2 separate regions of the Homo sapiens genome follow, and region 1 is linked to region 2. Evidence: promoter capture Hi-C in 16 types of primary human blood cells and fetal thymus (Javierre and others, 2016). All regions are on one chromosome and are shown on one strand. Each heading gives the region's core, a stretch centred on a gene start or on the middle of the fragment in contact. The rest is flanking DNA. Distances are from core to core; before and after follow the strand shown.

The links. The method cuts DNA at HindIII sites, captures the fragments that hold promoters and counts their contacts. A CHiCAGO score of 5 or more calls a contact.
Region 1: a fragment that was not itself captured here is called in contact with the fragment with the promoter of IGFL1 in region 2 in 2 of 17 cell types (M0 macrophages and M1 macrophages); the score reaches 5.8 in M0 macrophages.

Annotation. Positions count from the first base shown.
Region 1 is chr19:46,067,269-46,072,829 of GRCh38, reverse strand. It overlaps a transcript of IGFL4 not described here. Among named protein-coding and RNA genes, the nearest start is that of IGFL4, 29 kb to the right of the region's middle. The HindIII fragment of the contact is 5,358 bases long and covers 388-5,561 here.
Region 2 is chr19:46,227,503-46,233,341 of GRCh38, reverse strand. It overlaps IGFL1 (IGF like family member 1), which reads right to left and starts at 3,600. Exons shown (of 4, transcript NM_198541.2): 1 at 3,543-3,600; 2 at 3,181-3,234; 3 at 2,825-3,068; 4 at 2,099-2,521. The coding sequence starts at 3,567. The coding sequence ends at 2,512. RefSeq lists an enhancer at 3,053-4,252. The HindIII fragment of the contact is 5,684 bases long and covers 1,483-5,839 here.

The sequences.
Region 1 (5,561 bases), core at 1,817-4,316, 160 kb after region 2:
AGCCAACATTTTCTCTGCCCTAAGTCAACCCAGGGCCAGGTACCAGACAACTAGAGGCTGCCACTATATTTCACACCCTGCCAATATTATTCAAACTGACCAGTTGTGAGCTGCATCTCCTGCCCTGTTCTGCCTTTCCCACAGAACACATCATAAGGGCTCTGGCCTAGGTTTTTGCTCACTCCTGCCTCTGTCTCCTGATCACACCTGGGGCTTCCCCACATGCCCCTGCTTCACATTCTGTGCCTCTAATTTCTACCGAAACTGTGAGTGACATTAAACATATTTCAATGGCATTGGCATCTCCCTGTCATTACCTCCATTGATTAAAATCCCATGGGTATAAATGAGACAAATACTTCTTAAGACTTACCTCTCTGCTAAGCTTTGGGTGGTCTAGAATGTGCATGTGCAGACCAGTCTTCATCCAGGAACTTTGGTGGACCCCACGTGGATTTGGGGGGCTCGCACTTCTTCACTGATGCCACACCTAAGGGATTCCAGTTCCATCAAGCCATCCAGAACCTTAGTTCTGCGGAACTGCTGTGCTATACTCAGATCCTTGCTACTTGCACTTCCGTTGGGAAACTGTCCCCAGGCAGAGTCCAAATATCCAGGTGTTCACTCTGTGACTTTACTTTCAGAGATTGATATTTTATCCTGTCTTCGTTCACCACCTGAAAACAGTGGCCTCATTTGGTTCATCCAGTTTTACTGTTGTCAATAGCAGGAAAAGTAGTCTCGTTGAAGTCACTGCCCTTAATGGCTGTAAGTTGGAGAATCCTCAGCTTCATTTTTTTCTGTTTTGAGACAGGGTCTCACTCTGTAGCCCAGGCTAGAATGCAGTGGTGTCATCTCAGCTCACTGCAACCTCTGCCTTCCAAGTTCAAGCCATCCTCCCACCTCAGACTCCCGAGTAGCTGGGACTACAGGCATGTGCCACCATGCCTGGCTAATTTTTTATTTTGTAGAGATGGAGTTTCACCATGTTGCCCAGGAGTTGCTGGTCTCAAACTCCTGGACTCATGTGATCCACCTGTCTTGGCCTCTCAAAGTGTTGGGATTACGGGCGTGAGCCACCGTGCCCAACCTCCTTACCATTTTTGAAGGCTATTTTAGAAAGGTCTTTGTTGGCTGTTATTTTCTTTTACCTCTGTAAAAATATTATTCCACCACTTGAACTTATGAATTCATTCTGCTGGTGTCCATGATCAGCAGACCAGGCTTACAGTTTCAGGAGTCGTGGTTTCACACTACCTCCTGTCTAATGCAAGTCACTACTGTCTTTGTCTTACACCTCCCCATCCCCACTTCAATGAAGATTATTTATTTGGTTCCAGGACCACACCCATTTATTCGTGTGTTTATGTTTATTTGATATGAAACTTCTCCAGATCCCTGGATGGGAGAGAAGCAGAACCAACTAGTGATACTAGTGATATAAGAGGAGTACTGGAAACCAGAAAGAGGGTGGCCTTTCAGGGAAGAGTATTGTGCTTGCAGAGAGGCTGTGTCTTCTCCTTACCCCCAACATAGTCAAGGGAGAGGCAAATAAGACTTGTGTCCTCATTCAGTGCATACTGAGCCCCTGAACTTTGCTGACTTGCTGGTGTGCCGCTGGCGTGAGGGAAAGCACATTGAGGAGGTTGGCTGAGCTGATACACATAGGCAGAGAAAAAAAGAAAAAAAAAAAAACAGGATCATGTCTTTTGAGTTCCTGATTCCTGAGAGTCATGGAAGGTGAATCCCATGCAGGCAAACAAACGCCATCTTGGGATTCTAGAGAGCATCATGAATGGAGGACCGCAGGCTTGTTGGGAGCTGTACTCCACTGGGCAAATATCGCAGACCTCTGGAGAGTATGGTGCCATGCCATCACCTGGGGTCACCTGGTGATTAGGCGATTCAATTTGAGGATGATTAATTTTTCCCCCAAATACAAAACATCGACCAAGAAAAACCCTTCAAAACACTTTGCACACACCCAAAATAGAGTCCAGATGCCCTGATAAGGAGTACTTCAGGCCCACCCATGTAAGAGAGAGGGTGAAGTAGGTACTTCTGGCTCCATGAACTGCCGATGTGCCTCCATGTTTGAGAGGAGCTTTATTTTGACAAAATGTAGGACAGCTGATGAGCCTGTAGATTTGACCCTCTGATGTTGTAAGTGAGGGTGCTTCTCCTTTAAATATCTGTATGGTCATCACTTTTCACCTAAGAGGGGATTGGGCGTTTTGAGCTGGGTGATGGGTAGTTAAGTCAGCAGCTTTCTGGACTCTGCACAATCACACAACCATTAGTAACACCACCAGAAATAAAATTCCTTTTTTTTTTTAGTTATTAAAATACATTTAATGCTTGGTATTGTGAGCATGCAGAAGAAAGAAAATAAGACTACAAAATGAAATAAGGGCTAGAATTTAAAGCCAATGTAAAGGAAATGTTCTAAATTGTGCAAGTGATTAACAGCCAGATGTTCCCCTATGATTCCGAACATGAGTCTCCAGTGCCAAGTTCCAGCCCGAAGTCTGTTGGACTCTCAGAGAAAATGTATAGTAACAAAAGCAGCCAAGACTTGCATGACGTCAGCTCTTATTTCTCCTTGAGTTTTTGTCCCGTGGATGTGAATCACTAAGAACACATGCATTCCTCAAGTTTTAGGAGATAAGGCAAAAAAAAAAAAATCTTAGAGATTTGCTTCAATTCGTATTTGAGCTTCATGGGATGCAAACATAGGAGACTAAAGCAGAAATGAGTATTGCTTCAGTAATCATGAGTCCACCCAGCTTAGTGAACAAAACAAGCGTTACCCTCCTAACCTTCCTGATAACAGGAATGTCTTGTTTGAAGTGTTTGGAGTCAGTGCATTTTACTGGCTGCCATTCAAAATATGTTTCAATTCTTAAAACTGAAACCCTGAACCTGTTCATTCATGTTTATTGCTTTAGTCTAATCTATTGTTTAGATTTTTCCCTATGCATATGGCTCAGAGCATCTTACACAATTTGCTTCAGAATTTTCACATCTATTGCTGTTGACTAAACACTCTAATTAAAGTGCCCAAATATGTACATACAAGAATATTTGTTGCAGAATTTTTAGGGTAAGGCTGAAATATTGCAAACAACCTACATAATTTTCAAAAAGAAGACAAATGAAATAAATTACAATTTATCCATAAAATAGAAATCTAGGCAGCCATGAGAATTATCTGTGATCTGTGGGCTTTTAGGGCTTCAAGGGGGGGATGTATGATATCTTATTTATAAGAAGGGAAAAGTGTGGCATATATGTAGACTTATATGTATTCAACTATACAGAATTTATGGAAAAATACAAACACTACATCTTAAATGCAGTTACCTTTGGGGAGGGTAGGAAGCATGATAAAAATTATCAATGCTCACCATGTAATCTTTACTTCTCAGACTGAACATTTTCATTAGAATACATTTGTTTCTTATCTGTATTATTATTTTAGGTGATATTTGAAAATTGAGTGAGAAAAGTCAGTCAGATGAGAGAGAAGAATACAGAGGGTAGGAAGAGACAGAGCAAATGACCTCAGCAACACAGAATCCAGATGGAGAGAAAATTGGGGGAAAGAGGTGGAAGATTTTGCTCATGGCATTGGCAGTGCCTGGCCTCTGAGGTGGGCTCTAGAACAAAGTCCTCCACTCCCTCTCATGTCTGGGGACATTCAACCATGTGAAAAGGTTTTCCAGGGAGGCATTTTCTCTGACCACCTGTTCTATACAGTACTGATAGGACAGCTTTCCCACGTACTGCCAGCAGCCCCGATCCAGAACTCAGCACTGCCCCTCCAGTCAGAATCAGAGGACCGAGGGGAAACATGCTCTCCTGTCCCTAATCACAAATGAAACTGTCTTTAGCATGAAGATATTCACTTGGTGAGAACTTAAGTCAACTGGACAAAGAGATGTAGGTCTCCAGTGCTCAGAGTGAATGTGTCTTTTGCAAAATCCCGAATGTGATTGCCCTGAGGCTGACATGGGGCCAGAAATGCCTGAGTCATCTCTACCTCTTCCTCTATGAAACCACATAATTGCCTCAGACTGAGCTCCCAATGCATTTAATTGTTTTGATCAAAGTCTTTCCCGGCGGTTCCTCAGAAGGAAGGATTGGGCCTGGAGGCCTACCCAGGGAGGGAGTCAGAGGCCGCCCACAGATGAACAATTCTATCTGTGTGTGCACCACCCTCCTACCAGACTTTGAAACCCTTCAACAAACAAGGGCTTTGGGATCCCCAAAATGAATCCCAAGCCCCTGGTTACAGAATCAACAAAGCGGGATGACAAATAAGGGAAAAGTTCAAATCTGGTAAACGTATCCCACAATTTGCAAGCAAAAAAATTGAGAACTATTTTTTTCAATTCCGCACACAATTAAGCATCATGTTTGCATTCAGTCTTGTTTTATGTTGGATTCCATCATGATGAGATTCGACACTCAGAGCTCGAGGTCTTTAATATCTTAATGTACCCTGTATCCCAGGACCTCAGATTACTGTCTAAGCCACTGCAAGGAAACATCAGCTCTGTCTGCCCTGGTGGGTCTTTCTTCATCTGGAGAGATAAAGAGATTGTTTAAGATTTGTGTTCAGAGACACATGGTGACACATGGTGGCGGAATTGGTTGAAGAGCATCTGTGACAAAAGGTGGAGAGATGGAGAACAGAGCAGGGTCCCCTCTTGGGAGGACCCAGTTATTGAAATTCCTTTTCTGCTGCTCTCTCCCCGCTTCAGCCTGGAGCATGGCAGGGATTCCTACCTGGATCCTTCTTTGATTATGGGGGAAGGTGCAGTCAGAGTTCACACCTGAAACCTTTTGACTCAAAGTCTTTTGATCCAAGGGACCAAAGAATGTTTGTCATCATTGCTGGAAGTGGAGCATAGGAGCAGGTGAATCCACACCTGGGTAAATGGCACTAGGGCTTACTCATGGGCTTATCCATGGAGCAGTTCTCCATGATGTCACAGATCTGGTTTCCACACCTGGGGGCTGGCTGACTGACTCTTTCCTGAGGGATAGATCAGATGTGGGTCCCAGAGAGAAACAAACCTGGCTGCCAACCTGGGGCCCTGTCAGAGCCCCATCCTGCAACCCCACAAATTCCTCCTCCATTCTGCTTGTTCATCACTCTTTCCTCACCTGAAACTCACTCTGAGCCTGAGCACACGTGGATGAGGATGCAGACAAGCCCCTGTGGGAAACGAATGGGGTCGGCAATGAGACTTATGTGCAGTCATCTGTTTCCTGCCTGGGGAATTTTCTAGGCTAGCTTTTGTTCTGGCTAAAGCTCAGCATTACTTTGGGGCTAATTCTTCTGGGATCAGGCTCATCGGGGTAGGGGCACTATTCCTGGGAGCTGGTCTTGGGCTCTCTGGAACCCAGGAAGGTGAAGGCATGCAAGGAAGCTCATAAAAGAGCCAAGATGAGAATCCAGGGAAGGGAGTGAGCTTCCTGGATGGGTGGAGGGCAAACTGGGACTGAGGTGCCACAGAGGCAATGAGGAAAACAGCGAGGGCCTGGGCTGAAAG
Region 2 (5,839 bases), core at 2,351-4,850:
GGTCTGTGTTTCAGATTCTTGTGCCAGATGAGGTGATGCTTTGATGTCAATACCTCGTGTTGGGGGAAGGTTGGGGATCTGGACCAGTGGTCTAGGGGGCCTGTATGGGGCAGGACCCAGACACCTGAGGATTCCAGGTTTAAGAAGGGCGGGGCTGAGCGAGGCCTCTCGGCGCGTGTAGGTGCCTTGGGCACCTACATCCTGCTGTGCGGCTTCAGTGGGGGCGTCCAGGGCGGGGTCTGAGCTGGGAGACCCGCCTCTCTCCTGCTCTCACGGAGTCACTTAAAACTTTTTAGTTTTCCACTTAAATGACCAAATGAGATCATTTCATGGGGTGGTGGGGGGAGTGCAGGCAAGGAGAGTCACATGTGGACAGGGTGAAGGTTTAGGACGCTCACTGTGGAGGATGAGGAAGCAGCCACCCCGTGGGTGGGGTGGGTCTGTCGCTTTCTAGGCGCCAGCACAGCTCTCACGCCCTGCAGAATCCTAGCATGGGGAGGCAGAGCTCACCCAGCATTGGGTGTGCTCCCACTGATAGGCCCTGAGCTAGGGTTAGGCCTGTGAGACAGGGCATTTGCCCTGTGATGCCAGATTGCTGCCATGGTGATGTGCCGGGTCCAGAGTTCCCGCACGTGCAGACACCTGGCCACCGGGCCCGTCTGGGGCCACTGAGGCGAGGCTGCCAACTGTGGGGCGATGATGGAACCCTTTGAGTCAGAATCTGCCCAGGGAAGCCATCGGGCAGTCCGGGAGCCTGGGTTGGCCTCGGATGACTGAGGCCCAGGGACGCAGGCCCTGTGCAGACCCCCTGGCCCTGAGAAACAGGACCCAGAAAGGTGGTGGCTTCTTTGACTTTGGGGAATCCAGGTTGGTGGAGACCCTAGGGCTGAACGCTCCCTAAGGAACCTGCTTCTGGGTTGGGTAAGCAGCAGCGTGGCCCCCTCCCTGCGATCTATTCCACATCAGCACTGGCCACGAGGGTTTGTCCCTGGCACAGGGCCTGAAGAATGTGCTTCAGGTGCCTTGGCCAGCCTTTGCTTCCTCCTTCCAAACCCGAGGGCTCCTCCATAGCCCACATCCTCCACACCCCGCCCCACCCACTCCCTCTCAGGCTCCAGCTTTGGCCCAAAGTCAGACTAAGTGTGGCATCTCTGGGCGTTGGACCTGCCCAGTGGGTTTTCCACGATCCCAGGGGACGCGTGCCTGGGATGGGTGTGTGGCAGATCAGGTTTCTGTTAGCGACCAGAAGAGTCAGTTTCCACTAAACTTTATTTTTGATGAATGCATACCTTAAACATTATAGAACTGGATAAACTAGTGCCTGGGGATGAGGGCGGGAATGAGAAAACAAGCCCATTAAAACCCCAGCTGGGTTTTCTCAGACCCTAAAATCTGATCAAATAATAATAGCATTCTTCCACATATTCCTCATACTGGGGTCCATTTAAGATTAAGAAACTTTCCAAGACTCTGGAGAAAGCTTTCCAGACCCTGGACACTAGTTAAAGATTAGATATTGATAAGAATGAAACACGCTGTCTTGCAGGTGCACTCCGCACATAGGCGTGGAGCTTAGAATGCATATAAGCACTAGAAAAAGAAGTTTGTAGCTTTGAGTTGGTCTGGTAAGCTACTCTGACCTTCTCCCCATAGCCAGTTGGAGAAAGAACCTCCGTTCTTTCCCAGTCTGTCTGCATCTCCTTAACGTACATCAAGAACAAACAGCCGGGTCCTGTTCTGTCCCAGAACTGGTGGGAGAGGGAGTGCCTCTCCGAAGCCCTCTCGCGATCCCCACCTCCTCCCCACCCCACCTGGGCTGCTCCCGATGTTGTGACTGGGTTCAGGGAGCCATGGGGTGGTGGAGGCTGGTGTAGGAGGGTGGCCCCTGTCCCAGGTGCGGCCAGGGTCCTAGTCACCGAGCACAAATAACAAAATAATAAATTTAAAAATAAATGGAAAAAGAGAAAATAAGTGTGTGCACGAACAGAACAAATGGAAAGGCCCAGATGCCTCAGGGTGACAGAGAGAAGGGGCCCCACGTCACCCTCTGTGACCCCTTTCAACAGTCCAAGCTCTCTAATTCATGAATTCTACAGCATTCATTTATAAAGTACATAAATTTATTATGATCCTGTGCTTTGCTCCTGGATAGAAGAGAACTTGAGATGATGGAAAATCTCACAGAAGGGTGAAGGGTTCCCCAGCCAGCCTTGGGGTGGTGCCGGGTTGATGTTGGCCATAGGGGTCATCAGGAGGGTTCAGAGTCCCTGGGCCCCCATCAGCACACGCATCTCATGCTGTCCAGAATTCTAGAAGGGGACCTGTGGGCCTCCTCAGGGCAGCTGCAGGGTGGGCCTCAGACAGGTCACAGAATGAAGTGGGCAGTTGAGTGTGTGTTTCTCTGGCCCCCAAACAGCCACTCAGCATCCCAGATCTCAGGTAACACCAGCCTCTTTCTCCAGGCCCACCCAGGAAGGAGAATCCAGGAGTCATCGTTCCCCTGATGTTCCATTAGCTGACACTGGAGATAGTGACAGAGAGAGACACTGAGCGGGACAGAGATGGCCAGAGATGGGGGCGAGACTGAACATGGGCAGAAATGAGGACAGGAGAGCCAGGAGGAGAGGACAGCGGGGTAGAGAGAGTGAGATTCTGAGAGGGAAATAAAAATGGATGGAGACACAGGTGTAGGGAAAGGGAGAGGTGGATTGAATAGAAGCAGGGGGCAGAGACAGGGAGACAAGGAGAATGGGGGCTCCACCCAGGGCAGAACAGGCATGCAGCTACCCTGCACCCACAATCCCACGGAGGGGACAGGACTCACCTGCGACAAAGCCTGTCATCCGAGGTCCGGGCTGAGTCGCAGTTCTGGTTTATCAGCTTCACCATGAAGGTCCAGGGGCAGCACTGCTCAAAGCAGACTCTGAAGGTGCAGTTTCCACACGTCTGGGTCCTGGCCAAGGGCACGACGGCATCATCATAGCAACAGTGCTGCAGGGGGTCGTAGAACTTGTCCCCACATCTCTTGTGTGGCTGGCACAGCATCAGGTAAGGAGTCATGGGGGCCACTGGAGGAGACAGAGCTGGTGAGATCCAGGAGGTAGTGGCAGGTGGGTCCCAGCCTGGGGTCCCCTGGAAGGTGTACCCCTCCTCCAGCTTCCCAAACACTCCTGGGCTCACCTGGGGCTCCGTGTGAGCAGAGGAGCCTGGAGATGCAGAAAATGGCAAAGACAGCTGTGGGAAAGGGAAAGGGAAGATGGGGTGAGTGGACAGCCACAGATATGACTGGCACTGACATTTAGAAGAAGACTGGGTGGAACCAGGGCTCGGTATGGCTTTGAGCAGCTCAGGGACTGAAACAGGGCTGTGGATGGGGCTGATCTGGGCACTATGGATGGGGAATTGCTGTGAGCAATTCACGCCTGGAGATTTGGCTGGGCATGGGAACAGGGATGAGGTGTAGTTTGGGGTAGGGAGAGAGCCCTGGTGGTGGCTGAGATTGGAGATGGGCTCAGGTGGGAATGGGGTCCTGTCCTCCTTACCTACGATGCAGCCTCGGGGAGCCATGGCTCTGGGTGGTTGCAGTGGAGTGAGGAGGGGATCAGCAGATCTCAGCCACTCCTTTTATCCCATATTTCTAGTGGAGCTGGTGATGTCATGGCATTTCCTGCCCTCCTGCAAGTCCTGCAGAGACAGGCTGGGTCCTTGGGCAGGAGAGGTGCCAGGCAGGGTACGTGTCATTGTAGCTTTGATCTCACCTTTGTAATCAGGAGAGAAGCGGTACACCCTCCACCTTCTCTGTGCTATGTGCCCCAATCGTCCCCCACACTGAGTCCTCTGGAAAATAGGAAGGTTCAGGATGCTCCTGGCATTAACACTCTCCGACACTCACATGTCCACACAGCGATTCCACAGGATCCTACTGAGCTATGACTTTCCTCAGTTTCCTTGGGACATTGCTAACCCATGACATCATTTCAAAGGGTCCCATTAGGTCCCAACCTCACAACCGAAACACATGGTCAAGAATCCAGTAACTTCTCAGTCACCTGCAGCTCATGGCATTCAGGTGGGAGAGACTGTGTGACTCAGGCACCTGACTTTCACAGGTTTGGAAGGTGGGAGTGGAGCTGGCGGGACCCCTGGGACTCAACACTCCTCTGGGGGCTCTTCATCTCCTTCTCTGTCTCATTAATGGTCATTTACCCAGGACAGGTCCACTTGGGAGCCTACATGTCCCAGGCTTCGTGTCAGACACCAGTGATGCAGTGCTGAGTAGAAAACGCAAAGTCAGTGTCTTCGTGACGTTCATGACAGTGAGAGGAGAGAGAGAGAGAGAGAAGGTAGGAGAATAAAACTCCTGATTTTGGTTATTGTCGTTCTTGTGTTTGGTGTCATTATCACTGTGAAGTTCTGGTGGAGAAATTCCACATCCCCCCCTGAGATTCTCAAAGGTGTTTTTCCTTAATGTGCTTTTTCAGAGGGTTGGGTTGTGATTTTCCCTGAGAAGAGCCATCTTGGGGTCAGGATGTGAGGACAGAGGGGAAGGAGCTGTTTTGGGTCAGTTCTGTGCCCCCCTACCCCTGCCCAGCTTCTGCAGGAATTCCTCCGCTCAAGCTCACAGGCCACACATGGCATGGACAAGCCGTTCTCCTCCGGGCCAGGCAAGGTGACCTGTCACCCTCTAGGCACCATGGCTGGCTCCTAGCAGGGCATGGATGTGGTTAGATTTGTGTGTGTGGAAGATCCTGCATCTGTGTTCCTGGGGAGCACGGATAGGGGCTTCTCTCTGGAGGCAGGAGACACAGGAAGAGGCTGCAGAGAAATGACTTCAATAAATACCAGAGTGCTCAGCACCCACCTTCTCCCTCGACAGAGCAGACCCTGCTTCCAGCACCATCTCCCTGTCTGCTCCCTTGGCCTCTGTTCCTTGCTGCTGTGGGGTACAGCAGTGTTTTCTAGGACACAGATTAGGATGTGCTAGTAGCATGGAAAATCAATTTACTTGGGCATAAACAATGTTATTTTTAAGTGAAGAAATGGGTTAGAAAATGGGACAGTGTGCATTCAACAGAATGCTGTGCTCAACTGTTTATGACACTTTAAAAAAAATTATTTATTTTTTTGAGATGAAGCCTTGTTCAGTTGCCCAGGCTGGAGTGCAGTTGCACGATCTTGGCTCACTGCAACCTCTGCCTGCCAGGTTCAAGTGATTCTCCTGCCTCAGTCTCTGAGTAGCTGGGATTACAGATGCCCGCCAACACACCCGGCTAATTTGTGTATTCTCCATAGAGATGGGGTTTTACCGTATTTGCCAGGCTGGTCTTGAACTTCTGACCGCAAGTGATCTGCTCACCTCAGCCTCCCAAAGTGCTGTGATTACAGGTGTGAGCCACTGCGCCCAGCCTGTTTAGGACCCTCTTATTGGGACTGTGTATATTCCAAGTAATGATAGAATATTATTATATTGTTCTATCGTATGATATTATTATATGATAGCATAGCACATATCTAGAACTAGATATCTAGTTTCTGGAGGGAGTCACAGCCAAATGGTGAGGACACTTGGGAGCACAGAAGCCTCCAGGATCATCTCCTTCTTCTCTAAGAGCCACTGACATGTCTCCCCTTTGATGTCTTCCATAAAGGGGTAGAGTTCTCAGGTCCTTGGTTCCAGGCATTTTCTGGGAGGCTGCAGTGGAGCCCTGCACTGGTCTTACTGTCTCTACCAAGAAGAGGCAAGGCTGCCTGCATATGAGCCAGAGTGAGAGAGTGGAGCACCTTCCCCAGGGCAGGGGCAAGGTGGGCACCTCTGAGGAGGGAGGAGTCCAGCTGCTCC